Linked DNA regions of Homo sapiens: all the other regions are linked to region 6. Evidence: promoter capture Hi-C in 16 types of primary human blood cells and fetal thymus (Javierre and others, 2016). All regions are on one chromosome and are shown on one strand. The core of a region is centred on a gene start or on the middle of the fragment in contact, and the rest is flanking DNA. Distances in the headings are between cores, read along the strand shown.

Region 1 (3,469 bases), core at 560-3,059, 1.0 Mb after region 6:
TTGACTTGAAGCTCCATGAAGGCAGAAGCCACAGGTATCCTGTTCTCTCCAGCCTTCTCAGGCTTGCAGGGGCCACTTCACATGCCCATTGTAGGCTGTCAGTCAATAGTTGAATTACTGTGGACAAAGAGCATGCCAGCTGGCTTGGAAATTGTCTGGCATTAGTTTGATAACTGTGGTCATCTGTAGCCTGAATAGAACAACTCCCCTGATTCTTGTTAATGAGAAGAATGACTCTGGGTCACTGTGGTTGGCTCTCGTGCCTTTGCTTGCATGGATTTTGATGGGAGCAATGAACTTGAAATCCATAAGAAAACTCATGTTTTTCAATCTAGTCCCATAGCATTATTTATTTTTCTTTTTTAAAAGCTTTTATTTAAACACTGAATTTTTTACAACAGTATTTAGAATACAGTTCATCTGTATGTAGCTAGCAGGTTTTGAAATGGGGTTAACTTTTATCTTACACACAGACACAGATACACACACACACACAGAAATACACACACACAAGCATTTGGAAATGGATAAAGTTTTTCTTGCGTTTATTTTAACACAGCCGAGAACATATTTCTCCTCATCTTTGAGTAGGTGAAGGGCCTTCTTCATTTTTGAGGGGGTCTAAGCAAATTTGGTTTCATTAAGTAATCGTGTCTTTTCATCCATGTGACTCTGATCTCTGTCACATTTTTCTCTCCTTGTTGACCATGCATATTCCTTATCTTGCCTACATTCTAGCAGTATCCTTTTAGCAGAGATTTTGTAAATTCTGCTATTCTCATTGCATGATCCTTTTTGGATATAAGCATTTTATTGAGGTGTCAGAGATCCTATGTATCTGCTTTGCTCTTGGGTAGAAAGCGTTGTATTCAGATCTGCATTTGATTCCAAAGACTGTGTTCATTCTGCAAAAATCTCCGTGGAGGGAAGAATCAAGTTTATCTGGATTGCTGCTGAACCACCAACAATGTGCACAGTGCCTGGCTTGCAGTGGAAGATATAAATAATGTTAGACGAAGTAAAGATTAAGAAAATCGTTCCTGCCTATCCGTGAGAGGGAAGAGGGCCATGCTTGAGAGTAGGCCAAGCCCCACAGAGGGGGACATGGGTGCTCCTTCTGATCGGAACTCAGCCAGGTGTGGTTTTCAGATTTCTGCTTAGGACACCATAGCCATGAAATAATGGAATTCCATCTGTGACCTACATTTCCATGCTTCCGCTTTCTTGGCAAAGGCATCTGACTAGCAATGGTAACTTGTCTGTTTTCTTCCTTGGTAGATATCTCTGAGAGCTGCCATCTGAGGACTGTTATTGAATTCTGCACTTAAGGTTTCAAATCTAAAAGTCACAAGCTCATTATAGACATATTTATTCCCTACAAGTGTTTTTTGGACCTAAACAGATGGTTTGGACACCACCCAGGCTAGTTTAGTCAGATCTTTTTTATATCCAAACAATATTTTATTATCATGACGAAATTGTAGAGCACAACAAATAATGTAAATGCTATTTATTGGCACTTACAAAATTTCCGTTTCAAAAAGTCACCAGAATTAAATTCTTCCAAGCATGCAAATATCGACTACTTTTTCTTAATTTGTCTCAGTGAATATAAAAATTAATAACTTGTTGAGATATGTCTAAGTTAACAGATTATACCTTTCTAGCACTGGTGACATCATTTATATTGTTCATTTATTCATTCAATCTATAAATAATTATTCAGAGTTCATTATATGAACACTGTGTTAGACACACTAAAAAGGATACAAATGCAATTCACACCACTGTTCTTTCATCAAAGATTACTAAAGAGAGTTGGAGAGAGAAGCCATATTTGTGCATGGCTAAGATACAAAACATAAAGTGTATAAAGACCATCAAGAGAGGTATGAAGAAGCGGGTGTTGCGGTATGGAGAGAAAGTAATACAATCATTACCATCCAGGAACAGCATCTCACACCTGTGCTCCCAGCACTTTGGAAAGCTGAGGCGGGAGAATCACTTGAGCTTAGGAGTTCAAGACTAGCCTGGGAAACATGGGGAGACCCCTGACTCTACAAAAAATAAAAAAATTAGGTGGACATGGTGGCACATGCCAGTAGTCCAAGCTACTCAAGAGGCTGGGGTGGGAAGATAGGTTGAGCTTGGGAGGTTGAGCCTGCAGTGAGCTGTATTTGTGCCACTGCATTCTAGTCTGAGTGACAAAGTAAGACCTGTCTCAAAAAAAAAAAAAAAAAAAAGTATTACCAAGGACTGGACCTCTGCTGAGCCAATAATCAGAAGAGCTCTTAATCCCTACAAGTCTTTGAAGAGCGCTTAGATCTCACTTTGAATAAAACATATCATCACACCTTAATATTAATGAAAAGATGTAAATAAGGAAGTGCAGACAATTCAAAGCATCCATTCATCGATTTAATATTATTTCCCCTCCCAAATGTTAAGAGCTCAACTCCATGCCAAGTCAGTCACAGGGCACTGTAACACCATTTCCAAAGTGTATTTGAAAGCAATTTGCAGCTGGAGATGGAGAATGTGTTGTCAAAAATATTGACAGTATTTTATTTCTCCTCCTTAGTTAGACTCAGTATGGGGTTTTTAAGTTTTTGATGACTTGTGCTTTTGCAGAGAAGAAAGGAATCTTGGAGGTAACCATGGCGATGTGGGTCTCTTACCACTAACCTTCAGGGTATCTTTCCTGCTGCATCAAGAGAACACAATGCCTTGTGGAATGAGAGAGAAATCAGCACATGCCCTATTTAAAGTAAACATAATTCTGACTTTTTTTTTAATGCTAAGAATCCATGAAATGAGCTGCTTCCAAAAAGTCGCCGTGGTGAATGTCACATGTCACCCTCTCCCGTGTAGATCTGGAAAAGGCATCCATCCATCCCATGGTCCATGTGCTGTGGCCGCCTTCCAGTGCTCCCCCCTGCACTTCACACCTCTAACCCTGAGTCAGTGCAGCCCTCTCCTGATTCAAGCTGTTATCTTGGTTTGTGGAGACAATCTGTTTGAAAATATGCAGTTTCAGCTTCTACGCAGTTCATAAATGGAGCCACTTTCGCTAGCTCTCCCCAGACCTTATTCAGAGTATTGTTTCTTGCCAATGTATCTCTGGATATGTGCACTACTGGAAACATTTCTCTCTTTCTTATTTTTTTTCCTTTTAAGCCTTTGCCCTTTCAAAAAAGGTGTCCCTAAAATCAAAACAAAACAAAAAATACAGATATGAGCAAAAGCTTAATGTCTGTGAGGCTCACTCCCTAATTTTCCATGTGTTGTATTTTCAGTTAATGTGTTCGTGAAACTGGGGAAATGTTTATTTTCATAGCAAATACAGCTTTGGGGTAAAAATAATAGGGACAGTGTTCAAATTCTGTAATACTTCTTAGATTAACATACTTCTTTGCTTCACAGGATAAAGCATAATTGAAAATTTTCTTCTTTTTAAAAATTACCTTTA
Region 2 (3,525 bases), core at 457-2,956, 1.2 Mb after region 6:
TATTAACTGTAGGTAGTGAAAGAGTCCAGAACTAGCAGCAAGATGATCAATTGGACAAAACATATGTTTAGGAATTCATTAATGCTGAGTCATTGCAGTTCATTAGGTTGAGTGAAATATGGGTGAGAATATAATTGATTGAAACAGTGGTTCCTGATCATCACCAGGCACTGTCTGTTTGATATTTGGAAAAACCTCTGTCATTAGGAGGAATTCTTGAGTCTCATAGGTGTTTTTGAAGGGTAAACATCATAGCACTTGCTCTGTATAACCCTAAATAAACATATTTCCCATTGCCTGTCTGTGCATAATCATATCATCTGCATTAGAACCAAGTGTGAAGGTGGCTCTGGTCTGCATATTCCATCTGCATGGTATGAAGAAGTTGGAAAACTCTGGTGCCTTTCAATTCTAAGCATTAGGTTTTCACATTTTCAGAGCCAAAGACCAACACCTAATGTGTGTACTTAGGCTGATTGAATAATTACTCTGGGAAAATGCCATGTTATAAGATGATGCACAAGGCAAGAAACTGCCTCGCTGGCTGCCCAGCACTCAACTTCAGTACCCTGATTGTAATCTCAAAGCATCAAATTGGTGGATCCCTAGCACAAATGCCTTTCCTTTTTATTTTTCATATTTAATCTTTTTTTCTTATTTTTCAAATTCATATGACCATTGCTGATTTGAATTGTTAAACAACTGGAAAGTATTTCTATAACTATAATGGTAAAATATATTCTAGACTCAATAGTCCGATTATATTTGAGAAAGAAAAATATCCCAGAGATCAAGGCATAATATTTGATATTAAAAATACTTTTCTTCTATTCTTTCTCCAAAGTTTCTTTTTCATCATTCCCTATATGTTAGTTTGTTCTCTGTCCTAAAATCAGCTCACATTTACCCACATTGTGTTAAATATTTTTCCTATTATATGCTTATAACTGAAGTTCTTCAGTGCTTTTAATGAAGTGCTCTACTGGGAGCCAGTTCTAACCCAGAAAACCAAACTAGATCTAGAAATAGAAGTCAACAATATGTGGTTTTTACATTTGAAGAGTTCACAGCCCAATGAAGGAAACAGAAAAAGTGAACAAAAACCCCCAAACTACAGTGGAGGAAGCTTCAACAGAGGTATTAAATGAGTAATAAGAACACTGATGAAAGGGGAATGATCCCAGCCTTTGGAAAGAGGAGATTAAAAAACAGCTTTACAGGGGACAGCAGGTATCAGAGAGGGATTGAAAGTTTAACTTTCCATGGTCTACTCTAAAGTACAATATTTTATGAACCAGGAGATCTCCAGCTGCCATTGAGAATATTGGCTTTCATGAAATCCTTTCTTGAATGTATTGCCTGAATAAATATCATTGAGGCACGGACTTCACTGCCAAGTAATAATTCTAATGTTTGGTTGTAGAAGAAATTGGAGTTTCAATGTCATGTAGATATTTGTAACAAACAATGGTGCTTGATGTAACAGACTCCAAATTATTCTCAATTGTCCTATTGTGTGAATTATTTATGAACTTTTACACATCTGTAAACTCTTAGAATAAACCATTTTAACCATTCCATACATAGCCAGAAAAACATTATCAGACATCTTTTCACATGACTTACTTACAATTCATTGATTTACTTCAACATAACATTTCAAATGTACAAATTGCAACACTTTAGTTGTCCAGATGCTTAACAATTAGATATTTCCATTGTGTATCTTTATTGGTGCCCGCAAGTGGATTCAAACGCTTTGGGAATTACTAGGTGGAGATTGAGTAGTAGGCAATATAGATATCTATATTATTTTTTCTGTTTCTTAAAATTTTGTTTAATGAAAATAAATAATCTCTGGATTCTTGTAACAATACTGGAAAAATAGAGTAGGAGAAGGTTAGAAGGGAACTAACATTTGTTTAGCAACAACCATGAGCAAATGTCTTTACAGGGATTATCATATTTCATCTCCATAAGATGTTAGTAAATGAGTACATCATTATCCTTTTGATTATCTCCCATTGAGTTTTATTAGTCCCATTTTATCAAAGAAAATATGAGAGTCATTTTCCCAAGATCCACATATTCAAGATGGGCGCCATGTCCATCCCAGTATATAGCCATACCAGAAGTTGAACCTTATTCTGACTTTTAACCACAAGATAAATGACACTGTTTGTACTATCCCTTTATTTATGCCGTTAAGGATTTAATGCCATCACCCATGTCTCTGCACGGATATAGAAAGTGGCTAAATCATGCTGAACACATTAAAAAGCTTGTACCAGACTTGACCACTAGCATCCAAAGAGTGAGTGCATCTGTGGTGGCCAGAATAAAGGCCCCCAAAGATAAATATGGACAGTCCCTGGAATCTAAAAATATGTTACATTACATGGTAAAAAAAAAAAAAAAAAAAGACAATGCAGATGTAATTAAGGTTACAGTTTTCAGAATTGGAAGATTATCCTAGACTATCTGAGTGGGTCTAATATAATCACAGAAACCCTCAAAACTGGAGCACTTTCTCTGGATGGAGTCAGAAAGATGCAGCAAAAAGGGAAGTCAGAGTGATTCCATGAGTGAGAACGTTTCAGTGCACCATTGCTGGCTCTGAGGTATAGATGCTCACACACAAAAACCAGAGAGAGGTCTCTGGAGCTTAAAGCCAGCTGTCAGGCAGCAAATGAGAACCTCACTAGTGAAACCAAAATAAAGTGGATTCTGCCAGCAACGTGAATGGCATTGGGAGCAGATTCTTGCTAGAACTGTTGATTAGAGCTTAGCCGATGGACACCTTGATTCCAGCCTAGTGAAACCAGAAGCACAGTAATGAGATGATCCAGATTTCAACCTACAAAACCATGAAATAAGAAATACATGTTTTAAAAAAACTAAGTTCGTAATAATATGTTATGGCAGCAAAGGAAACAATTGTAGCACCCTACCAGCTGGCTAGTAGCCCTAGTTGTGGTCAGCCTAGTAGATCTTTTCTTCCCTTGTCCCTCTCCCAGTGTTTATCTATTTCATTACTTCAGAGCTGCATCTGCCACAGTTAGAACATTATATATTTTAGTCACAAAATTCAACTCGCCAAGGGTCCTCAGAGAACACCCTCCCTCTTTCCTATTTTTTAACGAAGTGTCTCCATCACAAAATACTACTCTTGAGCCAAACTCACTATGACTAATTTAAAGATTGTGTAAAATTAATTCATGGACTGATATTTCCTATATACTCAGTTATAACCAATAATGAACAAATCTAGTCATTTCTTTTTCAACAACAACTTGTATTTTACTATAAATTAATGTATTCTTATGTTTAAAGTGCCTGTGGTATCATAAGCACTTGGCATAATTTATTAGGAAGTGGTGTTAATGGGGGCCACACAGCAGTGTGATTGGGACCTCGAAGTCCTCCTCTGTATGACTGTGCTGCTTCCTGGACATGCACACAGCAGCAATGGATAAGGCAGTCACTTTCCAAAAAACCAGAGTGAGTCTGATTTTAGCAAATATT
Region 3 (3,440 bases), core at 600-3,099, 1.0 Mb after region 6:
GCCCATAGTATCTTTAACCATTTCTCTATTGTGGTTCTAGTTACATATGTCAAACTGACTTCTAAAAATAAATGAGCAGCAATTCATAGCAGTATATGAGTATATCTATCTCATATCAGAAGAGGCAATAATGTAGTAACTTCTATGGCTTTGGTTTCCCTTCTAAGAGAAATTGACATCTTATTCCTTTAATTACATTACTAACCAGATTGAACAATTTTCAATTTGGTTATTTTTCGTATTTATTTCCATATTTACTTTTCAATAAAAAGTAAATTTTTTAAATTTTCCCTATTAGAGGTTAGATATTTCTTTATTCAGAATTACAGATCTCTTTTCTCATTTTATGGCAAACACATCCATGTTTGTTTTATACAGATCTATAATTCTTTCTTCCTGGCTTTAGAAATGAAAGCTAACTTTTCTTACTTTGGGAAATAATGCCTAACTAACTTCAGGCTAGTCTTTGGGCTAATAGGGAATTCCTACAAGTGCCAGTCTGCAAATGAAAATGAATTCTAGCCAAGTTATTATCATTTTGACCTTTAATTACATGTGTCCTTCTTCTCCCTCCTTTGAAGACCAAATTAAAAAACAAAGCAAAACAAAACAAAACACTTGGTTTTTGTATATCTCCTAAATCTGACAAGCAATTTTTGGCTTCCTCATAAGTTTCTGTTGCTGTTATTCTCCACAGAATTTTTAAAGATATAGTATATAAGGAAAACAATTTTTGTTTGCTTTTAGACACTGTGGTTAATTTTTAAAATTTAGACATTTAAAACTCCTTAAGTAACTGATTTTTGACATTTATTTGTGTCCCGCCAGTTGCTTAGAAGATTAAAACATTCTTTGGAGAAACTCTGTACCCTTTTAAAGATTGTTAATGATATAAAATTTAATATTTATGGTTACTAGTAATCAATCAATACATATTCTTTGAGTTAATGACTGAACTATTCTTTTTTTCCCTCTTCACCTACCCAAATCTTAACCACTTTTCTAGGCTCAGGCTAACCTCCTTGCCCACCCCTACTAGGCTATACAGAAAGTCCTCACCCTTCTTAGAAGCCATATTGTCCTGTTAAATCTCCCTTGGCACAAAGCGAAACTCACTCCAAATATTACTAAACTTTCCATGTGTTTATATTTTATTTTTTCAACTAGCTTCATTAAGTGTGCATCCATTCAATTCAATTTATTGAATGCTTTATTAAGCTTCACTTAAATAAGATTTTGTAAAATTATGTAATTTTTACATACTTGTAAACATACACACATGATATCTTTATTCCAAAAGAGATGATAAGTGGAGGAAATGGGGAGAGTGGGTGCCCTGGTGGTGTGTTTGAGTTGACTTGCACCAGCCTGCAAGAGCCTAGGGTTAAATTTTCAGCAATTTTGTAATTTGGTTGTTAAACACAGTCATTATTAAAAATCAAGTGTACTATTATAACTTCTCTGTCCAACTTTGCCTTCAGTGACATCATGTTGGTAGCTTGAAATTGAGCATGGTAGAAATATTTATAAAACAGAAATTGGCAAACACTGTAAAACAAAACTTGATTTAATGCTCTGTTGATTGACTAGACTTAAGAAAGTATTGCAGAAAATGTCAGTAATGCAGATTAAACCTAATAGTGTGCTGTGCATGTAGCTACTACATTGTGTATAGCAAAAGATATTGAAGAAATATTCTTCCTGTATTTGAATACCATTATCCAATTAGACAAAAAGTTCCTCACATCATTGAACAAAGGGTGAAATTCCGATATACATAGCAATGAACCAGAAACAGACTTTGATTTACTAAATGTATAATAGTTTGTATGAGAATGAGAACTAGTTTAACAATAGATCACATATTGGACTTAATGATAACAAATTTAATGAGGAAAGAGCAGAAAGGGATTCAGTTTCAATTATCAAATCATAACTGAATTGTAACCATAGGTTGGCTACAGATACTGCAGCTTGGCAAAAATCAGTGAAAGTATTCTGTAAGAATTAATTGCTTATGTAAAATTTGCAATAAAGAGTATTGTGTATTTTATTATTTGTAAATTGTGTGATATACATCCTTTATATGAGTAAAGTTTATAATGACATTATATACATGTATATATATTCTAGCAATTTTTATTTGGCGAGCTTGTTGTTAAATATTTACCTGCAAATCACTGTGTGCGTTCTTCATTGTAAAATGCAATCATAGTTGATTTTGAACAAGGGAATGTAGAGCCCTAGCTACGTTATGGGCATTATCTCCCCACTTTTCCTAGAGATGTATCCTCTCCTATTACTTTATAAAATATATGTAGCTTAACTTTTGTTTTCTGGGGGGTAAGGGCATTCAGAATATCCCCATCTCTGCTCTGCCTGTAAAATACCTATACATGCTTTATCTTTTTTTATATCATAAAGCATACAACTAACATATGCTTCTTAAAAAGACACCAGGAAAAAACACTTAAGCTTCATAACTATCAGTGAGACCCCCAAAATAGCATCTTTCAATTTTCCCTACTGCAGTTCTCTAGCTTAGAAATTCCCATACCTCCAGTGCTGACTCTGGTAACTGTCCTCTCCACTAGAAATCCCATAGTGTAGAGTCCCATTCCAAAACAAAAGATACCTAAGGAAAAAAATAAATTTAGATTTTTAAATAAATAAATCAGGACTCATGAAAGCTGCTTCTCAATTTTACATACCCATAACGTTGCCCACTTTGCCCTCAAAGGATGATGATTATTTTGTCTTCAGGAAGATGATCCTTCTGTCTGAAGCTCTTTTGCCTGTTTGTGGTATTTAATGTTGACCCCGCCGTCTACATCTCTGGGTTAAGTCATGGAGGAAGGAAGCCCTGTGTGTGGACAAGGTGCCTGGCTCTGGTGACCTTCTCCATCATCACGTGATCTCACCTATAAACACAGCATCCCAAAGAAGATGACAAATTAAAAAAAAGAAAAAAAGCTTATCTGAATGACCTTCAATCAAAGTCTTCCTCAAGATCTCACTTCCTCTTCTCTACTCTCAAAACCTGAGCCCTAATTTTTTCCTCTAAACCTAAAAAGATACCCAGTTTTGATTGCTAAAATGTTTCCAACACAAGTAAAATAATTCGACTTAATGGATAGAGGATGACTACTGAAATTCATTTATCTCGATTTGGTATATTTAAATACCAAGAAAGATCAAGGAATTCATATTGGCTACATATGCGCTAATGAGATAATCAGGGTTTAATGAAAACCAACAGTTATTAGCTAATCAGTTCAGCTTGGTGACTATTGGTCTGTTATGGCAGGACAAGAATAATTAAGTGATACTTAGAGGTATGAGAAGAATGTTAGTCAGAAACTGATGTATCTACAGAAGGCTCCAAATGGCCGACGTTTAATGGTCCTCTCTACGTTGCCATGACAACTCACTTGGTAACT
Region 4 (3,624 bases), core at 913-3,412, 1.1 Mb after region 6:
GACCTCATCTAACTGCACCACTCAGGGAATGTGACGGTCCCTTGAGGGTCCTGTAGTAACTGAAGGGATGAGCCTGCAAAGAGCTTGAGCACCATGAGTATTCTGGAATTAACCTGTGTGTCACATCCACCTGAGCACATACTGGATTCCCCCTTCCCACCAAGGCACTTGGAGTTACGGGATGTCATGAGCTTAGCAGGGTGATGTTGTGATTTTTGACCTTATGGTACCAGCTCATTGAATTGCCATATTTTATTTTGTAAATCAAAGCAGCAAACATAATCAGTAAGATTAACTACCAAAAGTCCCCTAAAAATATAGTCAGTGATGAGCACCTATCAGTGTTCTCTGTGAAGGCACATGAAAAGCCGGATAACTCGGCCCTGACTTTATAAGGAAGAAAGGTAAGGATCAATAAGTTCTGCCAACAGAAGGGACAGTTTATTAGCAGTGTTTCATGCTACATTTCTCAAAGTTTAGAGAGCATTTAGACACATCTGTGGGGCTTGTTAAAACCTAGGTTGCTGGCCCCTATCCCTTGAGTTTCTGTTTTGTTTTGAGTAGGGACCTAGAATTTACATTTCTAAGAAATGTCCAGGTGATTCTGATGTTGCTTGTCTGAGAAACTGTGCTGTGTGAGAACCAATGCTTTACACAATGGTGAACCTCGAATTGAGCTAAGTCTTCCCAGGATCTTTGGTGTTTTCAGCCCTCAGCTATTAAAAATTACTAATACGGGCCACTCACAGTGGCTCATACCTGTAATCTCAACACTTTGGGATGTCGAGGTAGGTAGATCACTTGAGGTCAGGAGTTTGAGACCAGCCTGACCAACATGGTGAAACCGGTCTCTACTAAAAGTATGAAAATTAACTGGGTATGGTGGTGCATGCCTGTAGTACCAGCGACTTGGGAGGCTGAGCCCGGAAATCGCTTGAACCCGGGAGGTGGAGGCTGCAGTGAGCGAAGATCACACCACTGCACTCCAGCCTGGGCGACAGAGTGAGACTCTGTCTCAAAAAAAAAAAAATTTACTAAAGCAAGAAGATACAGCAATACAGCAATTATTAACTTTTGCTTCTTTTGTTCTCATCACCTGAAAATCCAAATCTACCTGTCTTGTACATCTCAAGTAGAATACCCCTCCTTCAAGGAAAAATTTCCCAAAATGTTATCTGTCTCGTGCAAAGACTTCCTAAATCTTCCAATTGAGAGGAGTCTTTCCCTCCATAAACAGCCACAGCAGGCATTCTCACAATGCCCATCTCTGTCTATCTGGGAGTATTTGTGTCTGTGTAGACATATTATATGTATCAAATCTCCCACCTTCCATGCCCCAGAAGATGCTGGGTAATCAAGTCTAAGCTGGTAACTAGGCATAAGTCTCTCTACAAAAGCACCAGACAACCTTTGATTTCTATTCCTGAAAAAAGAAACACTGTTTTAAACTATGACTGAATATTGACATCACACACTTAGAAACACAAACACACACACACATCCATCTAAATGAAAAAAATATACTTCTCTGAAGGACCACATCCCAAAAGTCAATCTGACAAAAGAATAATTGGAAGCTTTAAATACAAAATTATTTTTGGAGGAATGTTGATCTCAAAATGGAGGAAGCCTCTTCTTTAAGTTTCTTTCCTGCCTGCCACTGCTCACTTTGTATGTGGCCCCTACATATAGTTTTGTGTTTCCACAGGATCCGAGGTGTGTGTGTGTTCGTGTGTGCCCGTGTGTGCTTGTGTATGTCTTCATGAACTCTGTTTCCCTCTTCGGCTGTAGGTTCTGTTTTGTATTATGTTCATCTGCATTAAGTCTGTTTGGTGTGATTCTTACAGATGGCATAGAAGAGTATTATTGAAATGACGTTTCTAGTAGCCTGGACACCTTCCAGCACATTCAAATCATAGGACCAAATTCTTTCATCTAATTAAGTTTGAAAATAATTTAGCTGATTGATAGTTTGGGTAGAAAGAACTTCTCTAGACCAGGGAGCCAAAAATGGCACATGCTTGAAGTAATCTCACCTCCTGCCATATTCAGAACTTACCATAAATTACTTCTGCTAATATGTTTCCTGAAATACACTCAAATTATCTATAGCAAAAACCTCCTTGGAAAATTCGATCCGTCCCCTCTATTGTGCTTGTTGTGAACTCAACCCTGTGTAACCAACATCTTTCTCTTTCTTTCTTCACGCTTTGGTGAGTACACAATTTGCAAACTTCAGGGACGGAAATTAACAAAGAAACATTTTTATTAGCAGTCCTAATTTCACATTCTATTAGTGGATCAATTACCTAATGCAAAGACATACAACCAACTTAATAAATAATAATTATTATTAGGATCACCTGCATACAATCACAATCAATTCACTATTTACTCTTTTGAAAACCAAGACCTTTCACCACAGGGGAGTAAATGGAAAATAGATGAATACGATCAGGTTGATTGCTGCACTAACTACTCAGAGTTTGTGCCAAATTGAGGTACATCCGTAATAGAACCTTGAGAACACAGAGGAAACCACTCCGGTTCCAGATTGCTTTTTCCTCTACACTCGCTGGGAAACACCTCACCGGTGGAACTGCTTCTCACTCATCTTGTAACTCCAGCACTTCACACATATGTAATAGGCACTTAATATGTGTTTGTAGAGTTGAATATAAAACCTACATATACTCCTTCTAAATTTCTGCTTCGTATTCTATCCAAATAAAAAGTGTGCAAGCTTAAGGCTTGTATACTCTCATATAATTTGAATTCTGGCATTATTTTGTTTATTTAATTATTTAGCCAGTTGGTGATCTAGTTAGTTTTGTGGTTTAGTGTTTTCAAATACTTTGAGTAGAGAAGAAGCCAAGCATGCTTGTTATCAGAGAAAAAAACATTTTTTTTCCAAACCATGGAAATCCTACGTTATTCTAGATTATCTGGATAGTGACATATTTTCTAAATTCACAAGTAATTCTCAAGCAAGACTAGAAATCTCTCTGTTCGAAATGTGTTGTCAAGACTCAGGTACATTATGGAATCCATTTCATCCCCAAAATATAGCTGACAGCATTTTTTAGGTAAATCCTTTACATCTGCGCCAAAGCCACTCAGTTTTCATTATCTTGTATTTTAAGATCAATTATCTTTTAATATGATTCTAAAATTATTCTCAAAGCTAAAGTCAATGTTGGCTGATTTCGCCATTTGATTTCTTCATAGTTATTTAACTAATAGCTGTAAAGCCACAAATGAATACTGGAAAAAAATGGAAGAAAAAGAGTTGTTATCAAAAGCTATGCTTTTCTTTAGTTTCAATTGCCCGCATACAACCATATTAATTTAAAATTATGAGCTAGAGATAGAAATACATGAAAATGTTTCACTGAGCCTTTGTTGGTCTTATAATTCCAATTCCACTTTCTATTTTTTTTTTAAGCAATTAATTCCACAACTAACACTCTGTGGCGGATGTCATTCAAACTGCAGAAGCTTATTGGGTAGTTAAAAGGATAAAATCAAGTAGTCATTCTACTAATCCCTTTACAAGGAAACAGCTTTCTGCATAAAAAGTGGAACTTATGTGGCCATTAGCAGATGCTACATCAAGCGACCAAA
Region 5 (3,667 bases), core at 904-3,403, 1.2 Mb after region 6:
TGGACAGTTCAAGACCCAGAAACAAGTAGAATTGTATTTTATTGTAACCTATTTTTAATGATATTCCAGGCTTCTACACATGGCTTTCAAAGTTTGCTGTAACAAAAACTAAGCAGTAACCAGTGGCCTTTAAACATTTCTTTCAAATACTCCTAGACACAGGTGCCAAGCACGGAGAACCTATATGATCACCTCTTACACTTTCTCGAAACCCATGAGTCCTTTTGCCCAGAGGTCGAGTCTAAAATGCAAATTCAGTCCTGAGAGTTTCCTCATCTGGGCTTTCTTCTATCATGGCTCCCTCAGGAAGGGGGGATGAGGGAAGTAGGCCTGCATGACTCCAGAGGCAGGGCACAGTGTCTGTTTCAATGCTGGCTAGCTTTTGGCTCCTTCATTCTGGGCTCTGAGGTAGGTCACAGGTCAGCCTGCCATACCTGGGCTCAGGTGGAGCTCCCGATTGCTTTAAGGGTCCCTTCGTGGGTTGTGCAACTCTGTGCCTTCCTCCAGGGAGACCCAGGCTCTGTGGGGAGATTACACACACATTAGGCTCATCAGTTTGATAAGGGAATACCTAATTCAAACAAATAACCCCCAAGAATGATCACACATGTTTATAATTGTCCTGAGCTTTGCAGGGTTCCCAGGGCAATACTGTATCCACTCCTTTCACTTTCCTCTGCAAAAGAAAACATGATGTAAGGGGATAATGTTGTTTAACTCTCTTCTGGTGCATTTTTTTAATTCTTATAGATATTTCTAGCCCTGAGTTTCACCACTCATGGAATAAATGGCATTCACTAATTTAGGAGAGGAGCAGAGATAACCTAATACAAAAGATTCATTGAAAGGTAGGCTTTGTTCCAAAAAATGGGGTAAAAGAGTGTTTCTAAACTCCAAAAATTTTTCTTCACATGTCAAGGACAGTGCTATGAAATGCAAGTTAAGAAAAGCTTTCCCATAAAAAGAGAAAGAAAAGTGTGTGCAATAGGTGAGAATTCTTAGATGTAGAATAGGCAGGACTCCATAAGAATGGAGAAGATTCCCCAACTGAAGCAAGAAGGGTTGTGATTCAACATTATGTTTGCTGTGCAGATGAAACACATAGAACACTAGAAGCAACCTCACCTGCTGGGTGAAGGAGGCCTGCATCCTCCAGGCACAAATGGAAGAAGTAAAAGTAGAAACACTATAAAGAAACTATAGCCTACTTTAATCCATACGTCTCTTTCTGTGGTTTGGAGCCATTTTGCTTCCCGTTCATCTGTCTTGCCCCAAAGCTGGAGAAAGGGAGCCCTATTGAAGCTGTGTAGTAGTTATCATTTGTGCAATGCTCTGAAATGCTGAAACGCCCTACACACCATCCAGCCTCTGTTATTCTGTTTTCCCTTGCCCTGTGAGATGCAGCTAAGCAGGATACCTCAACCTTCCCATGACTTCTTCCAGACCTGTTTTTGTTAGTTTTTTAAAAAAATTATGCCATAGAGTAAAAATTCAAAATGATGAAAATTCTTAGGAGTAATATTAGTTTTCAAGGCTGCTGTAAAAAAGTACCTCCAACAGCTGGCTTAAAAACAACACATATTTATTGCCTCACAGTTCTGCAGACCGGAAGTCTGAAATCAAGGTGTTGGCAGGGTTGGTTCCCTCTGAAGGCAGTGAGGAAGAATCTGTCCCAAGCCTCTTCCGAGCTCCTGGTGGTTTCCTGGCAATCCTTAGTGTTCCTTGGCTTGTAGAAGCCTCAACCTGATCTCAGCCTTCGTTTTCACATGCCATCCTCCCTCTGTGTGTGTGTGCGTGCGTGCGTGCACGTGTGCGTGTCTTGTGCAGAGTTTTTCTTTTCTTTTTTCCTAAGGACACCGATTATATTGGACTAGGGGCCCACCCTACTCCAGTATGACCTCATCTTAACTAATTACATCTGCAATGATCCTGTTCTGGTCGCAATCAGAGGCTATGAGGCTTAGGACTTCAGCTTATGCATTTGGAGGGGATGCAATTCAACCCATAACAGTTGTTTCATCTATTTTCAACTTTAATGTAGAAGAGTAAAAGAAAATAGAAGTAAAAGAAATTTTGCGGGTCCTGATTTTACAGAAACATTGGAAAGTCTCCACAACTTACAAATTTTTTTTTTGGCTTCTAGCCTATCTGTAAGAATGAATTCACCCTTCTCCTCTTCTTCTGACATCCTGTGGCTCATTAATGTCAGGCTTGCTTAGGGCTTCTACAAGCAGACCCCTGCTCCGTCCTGTGCATAACGCTACCCCAAACGTGTTCCACCGAAAGGTCTCTGTTTTTCACATTTTATATACTTGTTTCTCTTGCATTAATTCTTGAAGTTTCGTTTTTCCCATGCAAATATGAAAACACATTTTAAAAAAAGAGGTATTCTCTCCCTCTCAGCAGCAGAAGTTTGAAAACGAAGATTTATTTTGCATCTTTGACAGACGGATCTATTGAAATTTATCATTTTTAAAAAGACATATACCCTCTTTTTTGCAGTAGGAGCCAATAAACAAAGTAGTGGGCCCCTAATTTACATAAAAATTAATAAGAAACTTTATCTGAAACACAGATTGCTTTATTGCCTGACTTAACATGTCACAAAAGTCGGAGTAGAAGCATTGAGCACTGAAAATTCAAGAACCTTATGAAAAGTTGTGGTCTCCAAATTAAGGCTTCCAGAAGAAATATTAAAAGTCTGCTCACTTCCGTAGTAGTTTTATTCTCAGATATATATTTTTAAATAAATCTCAGAAGGCAAGTCCAATTTATCTTCAAAGCATTTCTTGTGTGCCCATTTGAGGAACATCAAATATTTATTACATGCTCCCCTGCAGATGGCAAAATCTATACAAAATAAATAAATATTTTCTGCTTTACGAAGTGTAAATTTTATGTGTGTTAAAACTTGTATAGATAACCTCCAAATCAAGGATGTGAGATCCAAATGTGCTCAAAAGGAGCAAACAACCACTCTTATTGTGACCCAAGTAAACTTCAAGGAATACCTGGATGGTGTTAAAAACAAAAACAAAACTCAAGCAATAATGAAGTCTGAACACAGTGGAGGGAAGGAATTGGGAGACCAGGAGATACGATGTATGATTCTACTTTCGTGGCTTCCAGTGGTCCTAGCACTTTTCTTTTCTGAGCCTCTTCAAAATGAAAACAATAGAGAGCTGACCATATTTCAGGTCATCCTAAGTTTACAGCTAGTTGTATGGTGAGGCTGGCTCTAGTTTTTAACTTATTTGTATCTTTTAAATTAAATAACACACCATTTAAAAAATACTTTTTCTACATAGAACCAAAATTTTGCTAAGAATTAGATTCAGTGGTTTTCTTGAAGCTTTGCTGATTCACTTTTAAGGATATTTCTTATACGTAAGACACTAGAGCTTAAGAGGAAATACATTTACAAAATGAATTTTTAGCTTTATCTGGCTCCTAAATATGTGAATAGCAGTTTTAGATTTCTAATGAATGCCATGCCCAGTCGGATTTGTCTAGGGGCAAAATCCCTTAAGATGCCCCTTGCTGTAAACCTCTCAAAAAGAAAATCTCATCACCAGTCAAAAGTAATGGGTCCAAGGGGTGTTGTGATTCCCCTAAATTCTCAGGTCAGCAGCATTCTCATTTCTGACTTTTTCACTTCGGTCAGCTG
Region 6 (3,522 bases), core at 645-3,144:
GAATAGTATATAAAGAAAACCTTCCAACTGCAGAAAGGGCATTTAAAAGTCTTTTTCATAAATAACGAATATCACAGTCCAAGTAAGAGAACACCCTGGGAAGATGATCATTCTTAGTTTTCCTTCCATTTTTTTTTTCTTTTTAAAAAGGTCCATTCAACTTGTCCTCCTTGTGAAATGGTTGAAAAATAAGTTCAGCACTTAAAAGATTCCGTGAATTTGTTGTTGTTGTTGTTGTGCAAAGAATAAAAGAAATCATGAACACCTGCGAAAGAGTGGGGGAGAAAGGCATGTTTAAGAGAATGTAACCTAAGGGCAGAGGCGGGCGACTGGCGCCGGGAGGAAGCCACAGTTTGAACATTTAACCAAACACTCAAAGATTGGGCAAACCCTGGCGTCCAGATGCAACACACACACTCGCCTCGACAGCGCAAATTAAACATTAAAATAGCAGAGACTCAAGGGAAAAACTTCCCAACCCAATCTCCTATTTGGATCTCCAACAGCAGTGCTACAGGCGCCAGTCTGCTTCTCGTAACAATTATTTGATTGAAAACAGCCCTTTAGTTAACAGATAGGGAAGTCTGGGATCCCACATCACAGGGTTGAAGGCACAGGGTAGCAATCCTCAACTAGCCCAGAGAATCCCAGAGGACTATAGTTTTAGGGAAGGAGGATCACTATGGAATTTGTGGCGGTAAGATTAATTACAGTGGAGGTTAGTACCTCATAGTACCAGAGGACTCGTAGGAAGATCCAGGGCATTACATTTGCTACAAAGCCAATACACACGTTCCTCGGCCGCCTTCGTAGTAAGTTATTGGCATCATTTCCTTTTAAAGGAAAATGTTCTGTGATCTCGAGCACCCAAAGCTACAAGCTCCTTCATGTCTAGTGAGACAATGTAGTACGGGTAACACCGCGAAGTAAGCATGCATTTACCAAATCAGACATTTTATAGATACACAAGCAAAAACACATGCGCGCGCGCGCACACACACCGAGGGGCAGTTTACCCACGGGTGGCACAAGCAAACACTCACCGCTTATTCAGCCACACAGTGCTTTGCTGTCATTTGACATTAACTCAGAAGGGAATTCAGAAGCCTGGAAAGAAAGAGGATAAAGAGTACGAGGTTAAGACAATGTTAAGTAGAAAGGGTTTTTTTTTTTTTTTTTTTTTTTTTGTAGTCCACAGACCAGCAAGTTCCATTAAACACGTTTATGGTAACAATTCAGATTTAAAGACAGACGCATTAACATGTCAGAACTTACTAGCAATTTCACGCACAGCTCAATCTACAGCAGATTCTGAAGAAAATAAAGTTAAATAGCTCATACGAAAGTCACCGTCTGGGCTACGGATCTCCTAGTGACAGCCCAGACGACCGCGGGAGTGTGCGGCGGCGGGGCGGGGACCCCGGAGCAGGTCTTACCTGCAAGGACAGGATGCTGATATCCGTGTTGAGGGTGGTCAGCGGCGTCCTGGACGCCTGGTTCTGCCCGGGTCTCTGGTGATGCAGGCTGACAATAGTGGGATGCGAGTCCAGGGCGATCTGCAGGTCCAAGATGTAGTCGATGACGTGCTGCAGGATTTCCATCTTGCTCACCTTCTTGTTCTGGGGGATGCTGGGCACCAGCTCCTTGAGCTTGGAGTAGCAGTCGTTCATGTTGTATAGCAGGCTCATCGGGTCGTCCACAGGGGTTTTGCTCCGGGAGATGCCCAGGCTGTGGTCCGACAGGCTGTTTTTCCTAACGGACCTCACGGGACTGAAGGCTTTCATGCTGACCGCGAGGGAAGGCGAGACCGGGAGGGAGCTGGCTGCCCTGAAGCTCAGGCCGCCGCTGCCGCCTGCTGAGCTAGCTGCGCTTGGCACCGGGCTCGGCTCAGAATGAAGCCCGAGCCCGGCGGGGCGGCTTTTATCCGCACTCGCCGGGGCCACACGCTGGAGCTTCCCTTCGTCCCCATTGGCGGAAGGTGGCACGTCTATCAAGACGAGCGGGCGCTTCCATTGGTGGGCGCGGGCGCGGGGCGTGGGCTTGGTTCTTCCGCGTTCGCAGCCAATCCCCGCGGGGTGGGCGGGGCGCGAGCCCAGCTGGGGTGGTAAATAGAGTACAGTACAGTAAGTGCGGGGCTGGCGGGGGGCGGGGGGCGGGGAGCGGCGGGCGGGGGGCGGGGAGGAGGGAGGCGGGAGGAGGGAGAGGAGGAGGGAGGAGGAAGAGAAGGGAAGATGGGGGAGGGGAAGGGGGAGGGGAAGGGGGAGGGGAAGGAGGAGGGAGAAGGGGGCAGACCCTGGGCGCCTAAATATGCATTCTTAATTCTAATTCCAAGCGCGCGGCGGGACCCTTGCCCTGGGGGTGTTCCCAGACCAAGCCCTACACACCTTAGAGCTGTCGGCAGCTCTAAAATCACAGCTACACGGGCGAGTTCAGCACCGCAGGGGGGAAGCCACAGTTCACTGCAACCCATCGGAGGGAGAGCGTGAGGAAAGATAGAAAGCATTTCAGAAGAAAGTGAAAACGCAAATTAGGTTGTCACTGAAGAGTCACGTTTGTAGAGTGAGTTCGTCTCTTCAGATAAGGAAAAGTTATGTTAACACAAACAAACCACCCACGCACGCATTCGACGACAGGCTTAGTGTGGGCTTTTGCAACCCGGAGCAGCGCGGGAGGCATTACTGTAAACTCAAGAAAATGAGTACTTATTGCAAACCATGCCCAACCTCACCGGTCGCTAAGGAGCTCTCACAGGCAGGGCGCTTTCAGGGTTCCTTTTCAAGAAGGAGGCAGGGCTATTATAATGATCGTATTAATCGGAAATAATTAGGAGAATTTGCATATTGAAACTACATTTACATACACTGCCCTTGAAAGGCTGCCGGTCTGTGCCCTTCCGTGTAGGTGGCAAAGTAATGTGATTAATTATGCACTAATTGTGATTTCTGGTGTCACATTCCAACACCTAGAGGAGTTCCAAAGCTTTGTGACAGATAGGTGGCCCTAGCCATTGATAGACATCTTCACACTAAGGAAAAAAAAATATTCTGTCATATGAGGTTTGGAATCTTTTCAGCACTAGTACTGAATACGGGTTCAAGGTTTTTTTTTTTTTTTTTGGCTGAAAATCTTTTAAGAACTCGTTCTTTCAGTCTAAGTTTTAAAAAGTTTGCAGCTATTTACTTAAATACCTTAATTTTCACATAATTGTAGCTTATCTAGAATTCTGTTTTGACCACAGTGTGTCAGTTTCTTGTTTTTGAAAATATTTGCTCCAGAAAACAATGAACTAGAAAACTCCAGGAAAGGCAATATTCAAATCTTATTTACTTTCTGCCTCAATCTCTACCTCCTTTGCATTTCAGAAAGCGGAAGGGGCAGGCCTAGAAGCTGAAAGAAAAGCTCGATAATGGGGAAACAGTGTTTTTTCCTTCAATTAATGATTAATTTCTCAGCTGGTGGGGCCAGCAGTCTCTGACCGTCACGTGACAGCTATGCGCCCCATGACGCCTCTCCAGGGAGGCA
Region 7 (3,620 bases), core at 946-3,445, 1.2 Mb after region 6:
CCAAAATAAAATCTGCATTGGGAAACATAAAGAATGTCAGATGTATCATCAAAGCTATTGGCCTTGAACTTCATTCTGCTTTGGATTAGAAAAGTCATTTCTCTTTTCTAATTTAATTATTTGATTTCCCTTCGAAATGCAATGCAACCTGCTAATTTGTGACTTTCTCTGAATATTGTCTTCTTATTGAAGGATAAACTTGATGTTTATGTTTATATGCTATAATGTTTAATAAATAATACATGCCAAAGGAGTGACTTAGACAAGTTGTATGTCCTCTCTGAGCTTCAGTTTCTTCATATGCAGATGAGAATATTAACATCCATCTAAGCAATGTTGCAATGACGTAGTGATATGTGTGAAAGCACTGGATTAGTAGTTCTGCATTGTCAGCAAGCTGATTTCAGCGGAACAAGGGATTTATTGAATGGATGAATAGTTAACAAAACACCAGAAGGCTAAAAAACATGTGAAGAATATAGGTAATATCAAAGGAAGATCAGACAGAGAGAATCACAGCAAAACAAACAAACAAACAAACAAACAAAAAACCAACAACAAAAAAAAACAGAAAAACTGCTCTGCAGAACCAGTTAGGTGAAAAGAGAGCAGCTGTCACCATGAGCAGGGGAACCTGAGGCTTTCTGGGGCAGAGCTGTGACTGTAGACAATAATGGCAATTGCTAAAATTGTTGCCTCTGTGGTTTTTTGATCCTGAATGTTGCTGTTGCCACTGCTGATGTCATCGCTGAAGGAACACAATCTCCCCTCCCCGGGCTTCTTTGCTATGCTATGTCTTGATTTAAATTCCTAGGTGCTTGCATCTGATCTACCACTCTTGCAAGAACGGAGTCTGGGAAAGTGAGTATTTGACTTCTCACTTTCTGTAGAGGGAGGCCAACTCTGCTTTCAGAACAGCTTCATGTGGTAGGGAATTTCGCAACTAAGAAAAGAATTAAGAAACAAATCAACAAACAACAAAACTTCACTATGTCCACAAGAATCTATTACTTTCTGCAGTATCATATGGCCTAAATATATTATGTAAATGTTGCTATACAGAATAAAAAAAGAATAAATAGAAATAATCCCCAGGTGGTGGAGGTTAGGAACAGATTGTTTAGAAATATAAGTTTGTGTTGAGATTAAGAACAGGTTAGATTCAGACAAACAAGGACAGAGGAAGTCCAGACTTCCAAGGTGGGGCAAATTGTATGGACAATGGTTTTACATTTTAAAATATGAAAGTATATTCTTAAATAAGCAAAATCATTGTCTGAAACAGAACACTAAAGCGAAACATATAGAGAGTAAATCTGGAAAGGTAACGTGTATCTTAGTTATGTGATACCTTTAATTTTATATTAAGGACTAAAGGAGATTTCAAGGATTTCAACTGGGAGATGATCTAGAGGGATAGTTATTAGACAACATGGAGCCCACCCTGAGACAGATCAGCAGACTCTCTGATGACCTGCAGGTGACTTGGGGAAGAGAGACAGCAGATGAGGCACTTAAACATCTGAACTTTGAAAATGACTTTGCAGTGATATAAAGAATTTACCATCAAAGGCAATTTGTTATATACCCTTATGGGAATGTCAATCACCTTGAAAATAATCAGCAGAAATAGAATGCCCCCAAAAGCTTCTTTTGTCTGGCTTCTGTTCATCATAGTATAAACTATTAGAGTATCTTTTTATTTAACTTTTATTTTAGGTTCAGGGGTACATGTGCAGGTTTTTTATATAGGTAAATTTCCTGTGGCAGGGAGTTGGCGTACAGAATATTTTGTTACCCAGGTAATCAGCATAGTACCTAATAGGTAGTTTTTTTATCCTTACCCTGTCCTTATTGTAATTTTACCTCTTTTGAATATAGTATACAGATTACAGATTGCAGGCAGGCTGCATTGTACATCGGCATCTCTGTTCCATTAGTCATATATCTTAATAAGGACATAAATATATTTTAAATGGTTATTTGTATCAATCCTGGAATTTAAATATCCATCATCTGGTGAATGGATAAACAAATTATGGTTTACCAATGAAACGGAATACAACTTAGCAATAAAATGAAGCAAACTACAGACACATGCAACAATATGAAGAAATCTCAAAGAAAATGTTAAACAAAAGAATGCAGAAACTTAAGGCTGTATACTGTATGATTCCATTCAGATGGCTTCTTGTCAAAGGCAAATCCTAGGAAGTTCATCTTTACTGCTTTTGGTACTAAGACAATAATAGCCATATCATTCATATATATATATATATATATATATATATATAGTTGTTGTTGTTGTTTTGTTTTGTTTTTTTGAGACGGAGTCTTGCTCTGTCGCCCAGGCTGGAGTGCAGTGGCGCAGTCTCGACTCACTGCAAGCTCCGCCTCCTGGGTTCACGCCATTCTCCTGCCTCAGCCTCACTAGTAGCTGGGCCTACAGGCACCCACCATCACGCCCGGCTAATTTTTTGTATTTTTAGTTGAGACAGTGTTTCACCGTGTCTCCATCTCCTGACCTCGTGATCCGCCCACCTCAGCCTCCCAAGTATATATACATGTGTGTATATACATGTAAATGTGTATACATATATGTATATATCACTTACACACATATACATGTATATATATTTATTTATTTATATTGGAAGAGTATGTGTACAATTAATATTAGTTCTTTCTTAAACATTTGCCAGTAAAGCCATTCAGTCCTGGAGATTTCTTTGTAAGAAGCTTTTAAAATGTGACTTCAAATTCTTATTAGACATGAGATTATTTAGGTTTTCTATCTCGTTGTGAGTGAGATTTGGTAGCTTGTATCTTTCAAGGAATTTGTCTCTTAAATCTGTTTTATCTTAAAGTTTTGCATACAATTATCTCATCGTCCTGGCCAGGCGTGGTGGCTCACGCCTGTAATCCCAGCACTTTGGGAAGGAGGCTGAGGCGGGAAGATCACGAGGTCAGGATATCGAGACCATCCTGGTTAACATGGTGAAACCCCATCTCTACCAAAAAAATACAAAAAATTAGCAGGGTGTGGTGGCGGGTGCCTTTAGTCCCAGGTACTGGGGAGGCTGAGGCAGGAGAATGGCATGAATCCGGGAGACAGAGCTTGCAGTGAGCCGAGATCCTGCCACTCCACTCCAGCCTGAGCAACAGAGTGAGACTCCATCTCAAAAAAAAAAAAAAAAATTATCTTATCATCCTTTAATATCCACAGGAACTATGGTTATGTTCATTCTTTCGTTCCTGACACTGGTAAATTGCATGTCCTCTTTTTGTTTGCTTCATCAGTAAACTAAAGGTTTAACAATTTTATGAATATTTTAAATGAGTAGTTTTTTTGTTTCCTTGATTTTTGTCTATTATTTTGCTGGTTTTAGTCTCATTGATTTCTGCTCTGACCTTTATAATATTTGTTTCCTTACTTGATTTGGGCTTAATTACTTTTTTTTTTTTTTCCAAAAATGTCTAATGTGGAAGATATGTAATTATTTAAGAATATACTATTTTTTCTGTTTCATGTGAACACTCAATACTATAAATTTTCCTCAAAGTGCTGAATTAGCTACATCCTAAGCATGTTGTTTCTATAAAATTATCAAAATTTGATA

The links. Contacts are between HindIII fragments. The CHiCAGO score rates a contact against its expected background, and 5 or more counts as called.
Region 1: a fragment that was not itself captured here is called in contact with the fragment with the promoter of ID2 in region 6 in 1 of 17 cell types (naive CD8 T cells); the score reaches 5.5 in naive CD8 T cells.
Region 2: a fragment that was not itself captured here is called in contact with the fragment with the promoter of ID2 in region 6 in 2 of 17 cell types (naive CD4 T cells and naive CD8 T cells); the score reaches 5.9 in naive CD4 T cells.
Region 3: a fragment that was not itself captured here is called in contact with the fragment with the promoter of ID2 in region 6 in 1 of 17 cell types (activated CD4 T cells); the score reaches 6.5 in activated CD4 T cells.
Region 4: a contact is called between a fragment that was not itself captured here and the fragment with the promoter of ID2 in region 6, in 1 of 17 cell types (fetal thymus). The highest score is 12.5, in fetal thymus.
Region 5: a contact is called between a fragment that was not itself captured here and the fragment with the promoter of ID2 in region 6, in 1 of 17 cell types (naive CD8 T cells). The highest score is 5.6, in naive CD8 T cells.
Region 7: a contact is called between a fragment that was not itself captured here and the fragment with the promoter of ID2 in region 6, in 2 of 17 cell types (total CD8 T cells and naive CD4 T cells). The highest score is 5.6, in total CD8 T cells.

Annotation. Positions count from the first base shown.
Region 1 is chr2:7,646,352-7,649,820 of GRCh38, reverse strand. No RefSeq gene overlaps it. Among named protein-coding and RNA genes, the nearest start is that of LINC01871, 78 kb to the left of the region's middle. The HindIII fragment of the contact is 2,876 bases long and covers 372-3,247 here.
Region 2 is chr2:7,513,109-7,516,633 of GRCh38, reverse strand. No RefSeq gene overlaps it. Among named protein-coding and RNA genes, the nearest start is that of LINC01871, 210 kb to the left of the region's middle. The HindIII fragment of the contact is 1,155 bases long and covers 1,129-2,283 here.
Region 3 is chr2:7,667,042-7,670,481 of GRCh38, reverse strand. LOC101929510 (a long non-coding RNA gene) reads right to left here. Exons shown (of 5, transcript XR_007088657.1): 3 at 2,712-2,921; 4 at 2,558-2,635. Among named protein-coding and RNA genes, the nearest start is that of LINC01871, 57 kb to the left of the region's middle. The HindIII fragment of the contact is 1,257 bases long and covers 1,221-2,477 here.
Region 4 is chr2:7,595,549-7,599,172 of GRCh38, reverse strand. No RefSeq gene overlaps it. Among named protein-coding and RNA genes, the nearest start is that of LINC01871, 130 kb to the left of the region's middle. The HindIII fragment of the contact is 1,166 bases long and covers 1,580-2,745 here.
Region 5 is chr2:7,473,582-7,477,248 of GRCh38, reverse strand. It overlaps LOC105373407 (a long non-coding RNA gene), which reads right to left and starts at 501. Exons shown (of 3, transcript XR_922748.1): 1 at 435-501. The HindIII fragment of the contact is 2,402 bases long and covers 953-3,354 here.
Region 6 is chr2:8,680,428-8,683,949 of GRCh38, reverse strand. It overlaps ID2 (inhibitor of DNA binding 2), which reads right to left and starts at 1,894. Exons shown (of 3, transcript NM_002166.5): 1 at 1,437-1,894; 2 at 1,044-1,107; 3 at 1-265. The coding sequence starts at 1,784. The coding sequence ends at 1,051. ID2-AS1 (ID2 antisense RNA 1) reads left to right here and starts at 2,087. Exons shown (of 4, transcript NR_110154.1): 1 at 2,087-2,123. RefSeq lists enhancers at 1,655-1,704, 2,192-2,695. The HindIII fragment of the contact is 3,638 bases long and covers 1-2,981 here.
Region 7 is chr2:7,494,551-7,498,170 of GRCh38, reverse strand. No RefSeq gene overlaps it. Among named protein-coding and RNA genes, the nearest start is that of LINC01871, 230 kb to the left of the region's middle. The HindIII fragment of the contact is 1,092 bases long and covers 1,650-2,741 here.